Regions from separate parts of the Homo sapiens genome. Here region 2 is linked to region 1. The links are contacts of gene promoters, found by promoter capture Hi-C in human tissues and cell types (Jung and others, 2019). All regions are on one chromosome and are shown on one strand. Each heading gives the region's core, a stretch centred on a gene start or on the middle of the fragment in contact. The rest is flanking DNA. Distances are from core to core; before and after follow the strand shown. Region 1 holds the start of WT1 (WT1 transcription factor). Region 2 overlaps PAX6 (paired box 6).

Region 1 (6,163 bases), core at 3,335-5,834:
TTTTAAGATTGTGTGACTTTTTTTTTTTTTTTTTTTTTTTTTTTTTTTTTACAGGTGCAGAATAATTTTTTTTCCCTCTCTCGTGGTTTTTCTTTTCCCCATTTTTTTCCCCTGTTGTTTGCAAAGTTGAATCTGGGGTCAGGAGTTCTAATTGTAACCTCAGACTGGAATTCCAGATGGTGCGCTCAGGACTGGAAGCAACTCTCAGTTCATCAATTTCATGGGCCTACGTATCTGCTCTGGCCACGGCCTGGCCTCCATCCCCACTGTGGCATTAATGCAGAACAAATTGAGACATATCCTCTATATAATTAGTTCCAGAATTTAAAAAGATTTACGGTATAATAATAGAGGCAGTGCCGCGGAATCCTTTCACTGAGGACTCTCGGGGAGCTCGGGGACCATCTCGCGGTGGCATCAGAACAGACGAGTAACCCCAGCGGCTCCAGGCACTGCGAACTGGGGGAGAGGGGGAAATTTTGCACCGCATTCGGCAGTACCTAACGGTTCCGGGCTCCCAGATAGGGTCAGCGAGGAGAGTTAGGACAGTAAGTGGGGACTGGTTAAAAAAAATCGACTTAATTTTGAAATGATCAGAAGAAGCTGGGAGTAGTTATCACAAAGCCCCTCCCTTGCCCCCCCCTTTTTTTAATTGAAGGAATGACGTTGAAATTTTCACCGCCAGCGCGGGGCTGGGAACCATCCTAAACACTTGCCCTGCAGCCCCGAGTGGGCAGATTCCGAAGAGTTGGAGTCGGCGGGGAGGGGAGGAACAGCTGTTGGGCTGTCTTGCGCGTGGGGCTCGGGGCGCGGGCCCCGGGGAGAGGCGCTAGTCGAAAGCTTGTTCCTCTCCCGCGACAGGCAGCAGCGAGGTCGAGCCACTCTTTATTACGGCCTGCGGGCCCCGCGCGCAGTGTGGCTGTCCCCGCCCTTGACCGACCGCAGCGCTTTGGGGTGTTTATTCAGTTGTCCGCGGCCGCTGGGTGACTCCCGGAGGGCGGCCCAGGCGTGCGCACTGGTCCCTGGGGTTGCGGCTGTAGCAGCCCAGCTCCGCGCTCTGTCAGATGCAGTGGACAGCGCCGGGGTGAAAGTAAGGGTTGAGAAATCCTCACTGCCCTGCTCCTACCCAGCCTCGATTTTTTCATATTGCAATAATTATGCACCTTCGAGGCCGGGATGCCTGCGCTTTGCCAGTGTATCAACGCCACATGGTTTTCCAGGGGCTGTCCTCGCCTCTGCATCCCATTAGCTCTGAAGAGGTAGAGGGGTGGTGGGTAAAACCTCCAACTGGACGTTGAGAGACCCGGGTTTCAGCTCGGCGTTGCCACTAACTTGTTTCCTGTCCTTAAACAGTAGTAGTAACAAAAACTGTAAAGTTGATTGAGTCAAAGGCCCACACTGCTCTCCTATCTAATCCTCAGAACAACTCTATGAGGTGGGCGCTAGTATCCCATTATCCCGTTTGACCAGTAAGGAAACTGAGGCTCAGAGAGACTGCGGAACTCGTCTAGGGTCACACAGCTGTTGGTTACCTGGCAGAGCTGAGGTTCCATTCTGGGGCCACCAACCCCTTGCTCTTTACCGCTGCGCTCCATAGACTGCCTCTCCTTCGGCTGTCTGGGCCTCAGTTTCCTTCTCTGTAAAACGAGAAGTTTAATCTGCAGCTTTCTTTGCCAATCGGTGGTTCAGACCAGGAACCTCTGCTACAGATCTCGGCGCTGACAGGGGTAAGAAGGTGGGTGAAAGAAGGGGGCGCCCAGTTTTCCACAGCCTGCTTTTCTCTGGGACCTCGCGAAGGGCGGGCCTCGCGAGCTAAAGGAGGTACAGGAGAGCGCCTATCGTCCGCGGCGGGTGAAGGTGCTACCTGCCTTCGTGCTAGGCTGTGAGTCCTGGTGCTTAGCTCAGGGCGCCAAGGCCAGTGTAGCTGGCATGTCCCCCTTGGAAAACCTCAGGTCTCCCGCAGAGAACGTTACCCACAACAAAGAAGAGGACAGAGAGGCATGGAGCGCCCTGCGACTGCAGGAGTACGTCAGTTCCCCAGCGCTGGCTTAGTGTCGCCTGGGCTTCCGGGCATGTGGATCCGTTGGGGTCGTACGGAGACTTCCTGTCGGGTCCCTGGGGTCCTCCGACTGCGGCTCCTCAGCTTAGCACTTTCTTCTTGGCCCCGCAGGCTGCAGGGAACTCCTCCCACCTCTTTAGTCGGAGAAGTCCAAGTCGGGCGAGGGGGCACCCCGGGGTTCGCACCGGTGCTCTTCCCCTCCCCGCCCCCACAAGGATTCTGAGAAAATAAATGGCAGAGGAGAGAGGAGTTCTACATTTGCTTGGCTCTCCTTTCCTCCTATCCACCCCTACATCCCTCACCCCGGGGCAAAAACTTATTTTTGAAAAATGTTGGCAGAGATTTACGTGTCTTTGCCTTACCTGGGTTTCACAAACACAACGACTCACATTCAAGCCAGCCTCCCTTCAGATAACCTCCTCTCCCCCCGCTAAAAGTGCCAAGGATGGTAAAAGAAGAAACAATCTCAATCTTTTCGTTTGGAAATGAAAGTCCCCGGCTTTTCATAAAGGGCTCCTCGCCCCTCACAGTTGAGTCCTAGTTAAGAAAAACGACTTCCAAGTAGAAATAATAGGCGGGGAGAAGGAAGGGAGATACAGGGATCTGGGGGGTTCTTAGGGCAACTGGCAGTGAATTTTGTCTCGAGAGTCCTTTCTCCACTCAAAAAACCAAACGCGCGAGCCCCGCGAAAGGTTTAGGGATAGATCGTGTGGGAGAGGACTGAGCAGAGAGCGTGGGGGCAGTGTCTTGTAGAATCTTTCTTTTCTTAATAATAATTTTAAAAGCTTCTGAGTGGAGACGACGCAAAGTCAAGCAGCAAAGGTGGCCTGGGAGGCAAGCGGAGGGCTCAAGTGCCGCATCTTTACCCTCAGGGTCTCCTGCGCCTACGGGATGCGCATTCCCAAGAAGTGCGCCCTTCGAGTAAGTCCTGGGCCCGCACACACTTCGGGTCCGCAGCCAGAATTTAATGGCGACAACGTTTATGCAATGCAAGCTAAAAACCAAAGCGTAAAAAATTACTATGTCATTTATTGAAACGCCATTCTTTGTCAAACTGCAACTACTTTGCTTCACATAAGTTTGGCTGGAAAGCTTGCAGCCCCAGCCCGGGCCAGCCAGGTACAGGAGGCCGGACTGCAACCGGTTGCTTCCCTCCCGTCGCGCCTGGCCGTCCCACGCTGCGCCGTCGCTGCTGCCTCCTGGCGCCCCTGGGATTTTATACGCACCTCTGAAACACGCTCCGCTCCGGCCCCCGGTTCTTCTCCTTGCCTAGGGGTTGTTTCCCAATAGATACTGACTCCTTTAGAAGATCCAAAAACCAAACCAAAACACCCCCTACCCGCCCCAAACACCTGCTCTGGGGCGCGGGGGCTGCCAAACAGAGACTAGACGAAGGGAGTCAGATTTAGCGAAGCTCTTCGAGCTCCCAAAGATTCGAACACTAACTCGCGCCCGTGGGCCGATGGAGGTTCTCCCTACTCCACTCCTTGGTCCCCTTAACTGGCTTCCGCCTCCTGGTCAATCACTGAGCAACCAGAATGGTATCCTCGACCAGGGCCACAGGCAGTGCTCGGCGGAGTGGCTCCAGGAGTTACCCGCTCCCTGCCGGGCTTCGTATCCAAACCCTCCCCTTCACCCCTCCTCCCCAAACTGGGCGCCAGGATGCTCCGGCCGGAATATACGCAGGCTTTGGGCGTTTGCCCAAGGGTTTTCTTCCCTCCTAAACTAGCCGCTGTTTTCCCGGCTTAACCGTAGAAGAATTAGATATTCCTCACTGGAAAGGGAAACTAAGTGCTGCTGACTCCAATTTTAGGTAGGCGGCAACCGCCTTCCGCCTGGCGCAAACCTCACCAAGTAAACAACTACTAGCCGATCGAAATACGCCCGGCTTATAACTGGTGCAACTCCCGGCCACCCAACTGAGGGACGTTCGCTTTCAGTCCCGACCTCTGGAACCCACAAAGGGCCACCTCTTTCCCCAGTGACCCCAAGATCATGGCCACTCCCCTACCCGACAGTTCTAGAAGCAAGAGCCAGACTCAAGGGTGCAAAGCAAGGGTATACGCTTCTTTGAAGCTTGACTGAGTTCTTTCTGCGCTTTCCTGAAGTTCCCGCCCTCTTGGAGCCTACCTGCCCCTCCCTCCAAACCACTCTTTTAGATTAACAACCCCATCTCTACTCCCACCGCATTCGACCCTGCCCGGACTCACTGCTTACCTGAACGGACTCTCCAGTGAGACGAGGCTCCCACACTGGCGAAGGCCAAGAAGGGGAGGTGGGGGGAGGGTTGTGCCACACCGGCCAGCTGAGAGCGCGTGTTGGGTTGAAGAGGAGGGTGTCTCCGAGAGGGACGCTCCCTCGGACCCGCCCTCACCCCAGCTGCGAGGGCGCCCCCAAGGAGCAGCGCGCGCTGCCTGGCCGGGCTTGGGCTGCTGAGTGAATGGAGCGGCCGAGCCTCCTGGCTCCTCCTCTTCCCCGCGCCGCCGGCCCCTCTTATTTGAGCTTTGGGAAGCTGAGGGCAGCCAGGCAGCTGGGGTAAGGAGTTCAAGGCAGCGCCCACACCCGGGGGCTCTCCGCAACCCGACCGCCTGTCCGCTCCCCCACTTCCCGCCCTCCCTCCCACCTACTCATTCACCCACCCACCCACCCAGAGCCGGGACGGCAGCCCAGGCGCCCGGGCCCCGCCGTCTCCTCGCCGCGATCCTGGACTTCCTCTTGCTGCAGGACCCGGCTTCCACGTGTGTCCCGGAGCCGGCGTCTCAGCACACGCTCCGCTCCGGGCCTGGGTGCCTACAGCAGCCAGAGCAGCAGGGAGTCCGGGACCCGGGCGGCATCTGGGCCAAGTTAGGCGCCGCCGAGGCCAGCGCTGAACGTCTCCAGGGCCGGAGGAGCCGCGGGGCGTCCGGGTCTGAGCCGCAGCAAATGGGCTCCGACGTGCGGGACCTGAACGCGCTGCTGCCCGCCGTCCCCTCCCTGGGTGGCGGCGGCGGCTGTGCCCTGCCTGTGAGCGGCGCGGCGCAGTGGGCGCCGGTGCTGGACTTTGCGCCCCCGGGCGCTTCGGCTTACGGGTCGTTGGGCGGCCCCGCGCCGCCACCGGCTCCGCCGCCACCCCCGCCGCCGCCGCCTCACTCCTTCATCAAACAGGAGCCGAGCTGGGGCGGCGCGGAGCCGCACGAGGAGCAGTGCCTGAGCGCCTTCACTGTCCACTTTTCCGGCCAGTTCACTGGCACAGCCGGAGCCTGTCGCTACGGGCCCTTCGGTCCTCCTCCGCCCAGCCAGGCGTCATCCGGCCAGGCCAGGATGTTTCCTAACGCGCCCTACCTGCCCAGCTGCCTCGAGAGCCAGCCCGCTATTCGCAATCAGGGTAAGTAGGCCGGGGAGCGCCCCCTACGCGCGGGGCAGTGGCGCCAGGGACTCTCCGCTCTAGGACACCCCCCTCTCCTACCCCTTTTGACCGCAGCTCTTACCCAGCTGCTTCCCAAGGGCCGTGAGGATAGCGGAAGCGGCGGCTGGGGAGGAGGCCGGAGAGTGGGAGTGCACGCAGGCACTGGCCCCCGACATCCTCCAAAGCCAGGCAGAGCTAGGAGCCTGACTGTTCGCAAGAGCCGGGAGGGCGTCTGGGGCCCCTTAGAGTCCGAGAGATTCCGGGACTGCTAGTCCCCACGGGAGTGGAACCAGGAGACCGGCGCAGTGTCTGGCTCTGCCTTGGGGAGAGTTTTGTTAATTAAGGAAACGCCAAATTGTCACCAAGCGTAGCGCTTTTCAGACGTCTGGACTCTGGATTCGGAGTGGGACCAGCGCGGGGGTGAGCGCCTGTGCTGTGCTGCCTCCGCAGCGCTAAAATGTCCAGGAGCACCTCCAGCCCTTATAATACGGTGTTGGCACACACTTAGGTGCACATTAAGTATCGTAGAGAACTAGAATGAGCACATGCACCTCCAGTAACTAAATGGCTTTCTGGAACAGCGTCGTGTCCGTGGATAGCTCCCGCGTATGGTAATACAGAAGTGGATCTTCACTGGGCTTCGCTCAGGCGGCGGCCACGCAGGTTCTGGGGATGGAAGAGAACTTGACTTATCCGAGTCCAAGCTATGCGGGACCAGG
Region 2 (5,192 bases), core at 2,520-5,019, 640 kb after region 1:
TTGTTGGCCTGGGAATGTGAGGGTTGTGTATGTCAGGAGCGGTATGAAGGTGGCTGGTGGGTGCGTGTGTGTGTTTGTGGGCAGCACTGTGTGCATAAGAACGAGCTGCGTGGTGCACTATTCAAATTTGACATTAGAATGCAGGGAGAGCCCCCTTGTAGAAGTGTGACAAGATAACGCACTGACAGACTGCGAGGTTAACATAATTGTATCCTGTTGCTTTTTGCTGTAATTGACAAATTATGTGACTATGAGTAGGGTGCACATGAAAAGGTGAGCAGGGAGATGCAGGGCGAGTCGGGGATGGGGCATTGGAAGTGGTGGTCTCCCAACTAAAACCACCCCACTATCCTTGCCCCTCCCCCGTTCGCCCCTCTGGGTCCCACTTTCTCACTCTCTGTGGGTGGCGACTATGTGGAAGTGGTGAGGTGAAGATACTGTGAGCAGGACGGCGGGATGCCGGGAGCCGCTCTGGTCTGGGAGGAGAGATGGGACCTGAAACACCCCAGGTTCTGTGAGAAGGGCTGGAGGAAGAAGAGCGGGGGATGGGGGGGGTGGGGCGGAGGGGAGGGTCAGTTGGCTCCCCTCCGCTCCCCTCCACACCCCGAGGTAGCTTGGTCAAGAATAGGAAACAGTTTACTCCGAAGATTAATCGGTATTTGTTGTCCTCGTGACAAGGAGATAATATGCGGGATAATGGGACGTGGCGTCTCACTCCCAGGAGCACAACGGAGCCGAGGGGCTCGGGGCCAGGGGCGGCGCGCGGGACTGCGAGGAGGCTGCCGGCGCATCCGTGAGCTCTCGGACCGGCTCCGGATGCCCGGCGCCTCCATGGAGTCGGGCGAGGGAAGGGAAAATCGGTAACAGTATGCGAAATATCTGGTACAAAGGATGCTTCTGTCACTCGCAAGAATTTGTTATGGGAACAATCCTGTCGCTCTGTAATTGCTCATTAGAGAACGTTTTGTTTCTCATTAAGGCGACATGAATAAGCGTCTAGTTGAAGGAGACAGCTGTAGAAATGTTCCACAAGAGACCTCTGGACACGATTCGGCACCAATTGCCAATTAGACATGTCAGTTTTAAGAGCAGAAAACAATATAGGACGGACACTGGGAAGATAGGGAGCAAAGCGCTCGCTTCTTGTTTCCCAGCGCGGCCGCTCGGCCGGCGGAGGCCTCCTGACGCGCGGGGCCCGGGCTCCCCTGGGCGACCCCGCCCGCACGGGCCCCGAACCCGCCGCCTCCGCGAGCTCAGAGGGCCCCCAGGCCCGCTCCCGCCTCTGGTGAGACTAGCGATTGACCCCACCGAGTGTAGGCAACCCCATCCCTGCCTGACTTTTGAAACCGTAGGATTCCCACTTGTAGACACTGGACACACCCAAGTGACACCCGAACTTCGCACTCACGAGCGTCCACCCCTCCGCCCCCAGCAATCTGAGGTCCTGGTGATCCCTCCCCTGACAAGAGTCTGGCCCACTTAGTCCGAGAAGTCTTGGGGAGGGACTCAGGGCACGGTGGCCTAGGCCTGGGAGGGCTGAGCCCAGAGCCTCCACTCCGGGCTCTCCCCGGTGCGTGGGCTCCCATGAGCTTGGGGCGCAGGATACACCCCCCTTCCGCTTCTTGGAGTTGGGCAGAAGCCGAGGACAGCAGCTTCCACCAGAGGTGGCGCCCGATTCGGGCGGATTTTCGTCGCCGGCAGTCTGAGGGCGGGAAGTGAGAGTCAAATCAGCTAGGGTCCGCCTGTGATGGTTGGGGCCGGAGGTGGAGCTAGTCCAGGGGCTTTTCACTTTAACGCGCCTAGTTGCTAGAAAATTCTGGGTCAACTGGCAATCACCACCCCCCCACCCGCAAGTGAGGTTTTTGGGGGGTGATTGTCACCTCAGGCACAGGACCGTCGCCCCTAGTTGCGTGGGGAGGACACGTGGGCCAAACGAAGCACAGAGTTGCCGGCGTGGGGGTAGCGGGCACCGGTGGTGAGCTTCGCTTCACGTTCCCGGGGAATCCTCAGACTTTTTGGTGCTAAGAGGGTCCCCCTCCCTCCCTAGCCCCCTTTCCCAGCCCAGGAAGCCTTTCTTGGGTTTTAAAGAGTCCATACTCCAAAAGCATAAGGCGGGGGTTAGGTCTCAGAGGGAGACAAATATGGTTTCCATCTGATCAACGCCATGCGGCGGTGAATAAAATCGCGACGACGTGGGCTGACAACAACAAGAGACAACTCTATCCAGCCCCAATTCTCCGGCGATTTGGTGGTTTTAGGGATCACGGAGACACTTTTTCTTATCTCCTCCCCTCACCCCACCCCCACCCCCCATAATACCCAAGCCCTCTATAGGATTTAGTCAGCCTCTCTTTCAACAGATGCTACAATGTTTTGATCCGCGCTCCAGAGCTGAAAAGGTGCCGCAACCGGGTTGCTATCTTTTCTTGCTTGTTTTCCGCCTCACTGATTAAGACACTAAGAAACTAAGGAATGATTTTATTTCCCAGCAACTCTCTCTCTGTCTCTCTCTCTCTCTCTCTCTCTCACCTCCTTCCAGGAAACAAATCCTATTCCCATCGTCAGATGGTCCTGGGGCTGGGATAATGGGAGGCGCTTTCACTCGCTTTCTCACGGATTAGGCTGGAAGGTGAACGGCACCCACTGAAGGCCCCTGCTTTGCGCGGCTCCGAGGGGGCGCCTTTTGAAGAAGATATCTTAATTGTCCACCACTTAGGTTTATCGTGGGGGTGGGGGAGTCGAGATCCAACTTCTAGTTTTATTTTGTTAAAAGCTTTAAGAGTGGAAGGCAAATCCACTAAAGTGGGGGGAAATGTACCCATTTTATGTAAGAGCAGCCGCTAGGTCACCGCCTGGCTGCAAACAGTTGCCACTTCTAAAGTAATGAACTGTCTCCGTGCCGCTCTCCCCGCGGGGTAGAGAAGGGATCCTGCAGCGACAGGTTTCTTTTTGCTGTGGAATTCCAATCCCCGCTTCCCATCTTTTTTTTTTTTTTTTTTTTTTCCAGATTTAAAATTGAGCTCTACTGTCCCTGCTGACTTTTCTCTCTTAAGTGTCAGTTCTGGAGGCAGCACAGGGCCTGGCGGCGATCGCGTGCTGCCTGTGTAAACCCGTGTGTATGTTTGTGTGAGACAGAACATGGATAAGAATGTGAATCTCCATGTTTTAAAATTAAGAAAATGTCAAAGAGGCAAATGAGAGCAGAGCATGCTATCGGCGGGGTTCTTCGGAGGCAGATTCGGGCAACTTTGTTTAATTGGCGAGATCGAATGTGCCAGAAAAGGGACCGAGATGGGGCCCCTAGGAAGGCATGGGCATGAGTGGCCATGGGGAGATGGGCATTGTGTTCTCCTCAGTGTCCCCCACCCCATACCAGATGTGCACAGATTTTTGTCTGTTTTCCAAAAGCAATAACCCTCCGGCCTTTCTAGTTGGCCAAAAGGAGCTATTTCCAGTCTTCCTTCTTCACCAAACCCGAAAATAAAGCGAGGGGTGGGGGTGGTCGCTTCATTTCTTCCCTTGAAAAACGCTTTGAAAAGTCCCCGGAAACTTGGGGCAGTAAATTAGCACAGACGCTTGTGCCCGCACACGTGAGCGGAGCGCGTCTCCCTCAGCTAAGTAGCCCTCCTCGACCCCCACCTTTCTGATGGAGTGCAAAGACCCAGAGTCCAGATGGGGCTCAGTTACTAATATTCTCTGGCCCTCATCCTCCTTTTCCTCTCTCTCCCACTCTTGTTCGGCCCTCGTGTCTCTTTTTCCTCTCAGCATTCTTTTCTGTCCTTTTTTAAAAATACCTTTCTAGCCTCTATGTTTTTTGAGCCTTCTTTTCCCCTCCATCGCCCTCTTTTTCCCTCCATCGCCCTCTGTCTTTCCCCTAACCCAGGCCCCCCAATCCTTCCCCCTTGCTTCCACCCCCACCGCTGGTTTCCATCCTGCCTCCCCTCCATCTCCTCTATGTAGGAACCCAGCCCTGGTCCCCGTCCACTCTCCCTGCCTCCCCCCATGCTGGGCCCTGGCCCCCCCATCCACCCTCCATCCCCCCAGCCAAGCGCCCTAAATAGCACGGAGGCGCCCGCTCTTCGGACAGTGATTAATGATAGCAGAGCAGAGGGGTTAACACACTTCACTGAAAAGTCTGTTGACTGGGCTTCTTGTAACACAATGTGGCCCGCTGCACGCCTCAAGAGAATCCTTTTGTTGTCCGCGCTCATTGTAGCCTCAAAATTCTGCCCACGAAAGTTTGCCAACGCTCCTGCCCCAGGAGTTTAATAGTTTCCCTTACTCGCGGGGCATTGTGCAGCGCTGAAAAGCAGCCCCTCGCTATTCAAGTGTTGGTGGTCATCTCAATAGATCTCCAAGGGCCCATATGGTGGCCAGTGCCGATGAATCCGCCTGTTTAAATGGGGGAGAAAGTTGGGGTTTTAAAACATTTCAAAGTTCCTGAAAAGATCCCACTAGATCCTGTCACAATTCCCTGAACTCTTTGAAGGCGCAGCCTATTGTCTCCTGGTTATAAATAATATTCCTGGCCAAGTCGATTCCCACCAAGGCGCTCCTAGGGGCCCCTCCACCCCGCCTCTGGCCAAGTTTTGAGGATAGGGAGGTGGGTAGCCCATGCTGGTATCCCTTGGGGGTCATTTCAGGACCCCAGACCCAGGACCCAGCCTGTAGTGGCCCTGGAGGCCCAGTCAGAGTTTAGGCAATCCTGCTTCCCTTCACTGTGGCCTTACAGGCAAGGTGCAAGCCGGGAGCCAGCTAGCCCAAGTGCACATCTTGCCCTCCAGGCAGCAAGGGAAAACCATAAAACTTTCCCCCTGTATAATGATAGAAGTTACATTCAAAGTGGTGGAAATGCCCTAATTAAAAATGTACCACTTAAATGATATGCCAAAGATTCAGCTGCAGCATAGAATATTTAGCTAGTTAGTGAACTCTCTACTATTTCTTTTTTAAAATTACACGTTAAAAATTTAAAAGAAATCTTACTTTTCTCTGGTGCAACACATTACAAAGAATGGACAGTCCTTTTATCTAAATATAAAATTCCATTTTCAGCAATTATAGCCTGTTCTTGGTGATGATATAATTACAGCTGTGCTCGTAATAGGTGTCAAGGCGAAGCGCACTCATACAATAGTTGAATAAAACTGCAGAACAATGCGAGCACTTCTAAATTCACAACCTTTAAATGA

What was found. The method cuts DNA at HindIII sites, captures the fragments that hold promoters and counts their contacts. A contact is called where the count stands out against the background at its distance.
Region 2: a contact is called between a fragment that was not itself captured here and the fragment with the promoter of WT1 in region 1, in 1 of the 25 tissues and cell types used here (dorsolateral prefrontal cortex).

What each region holds. Positions count from the first base shown.
Region 1 is chr11:32,433,960-32,440,122 of GRCh38, reverse strand. It overlaps WT1 (WT1 transcription factor), which reads left to right and starts at 4,584. Exons shown (of 10, transcript NM_024426.6): 1 at 4,584-5,423. The coding sequence starts at 4,763. WT1-AS (WT1 antisense RNA) reads right to left here and starts at 4,605. Exons shown (of 5, transcript NR_120548.1): 1 at 4,277-4,605. RefSeq lists enhancers at 397-1,252, 1,253-2,110, 2,700-2,847, 4,511-4,543, 5,651-6,163, promoters at 3,149-3,485, 4,389-4,491, 4,133-4,783, 3,585-4,783, 6,121-6,163 and cis regulatory regions at 3,944-3,963, 4,056-4,182, 4,167-4,204. The HindIII fragment of the contact is 5,194 bases long and covers 3,644-6,163 here.
Region 2 is chr11:31,795,319-31,800,510 of GRCh38, reverse strand. All of the region lies in intron 8 of PAX6 (paired box 6), which reads left to right. Among named protein-coding and RNA genes, the nearest start is that of PAX6, 13 kb to the left of the region's middle. RefSeq lists enhancers at 1,347-1,884, 3,638-5,192. The HindIII fragment of the contact is 5,432 bases long and covers 1,054-5,192 here.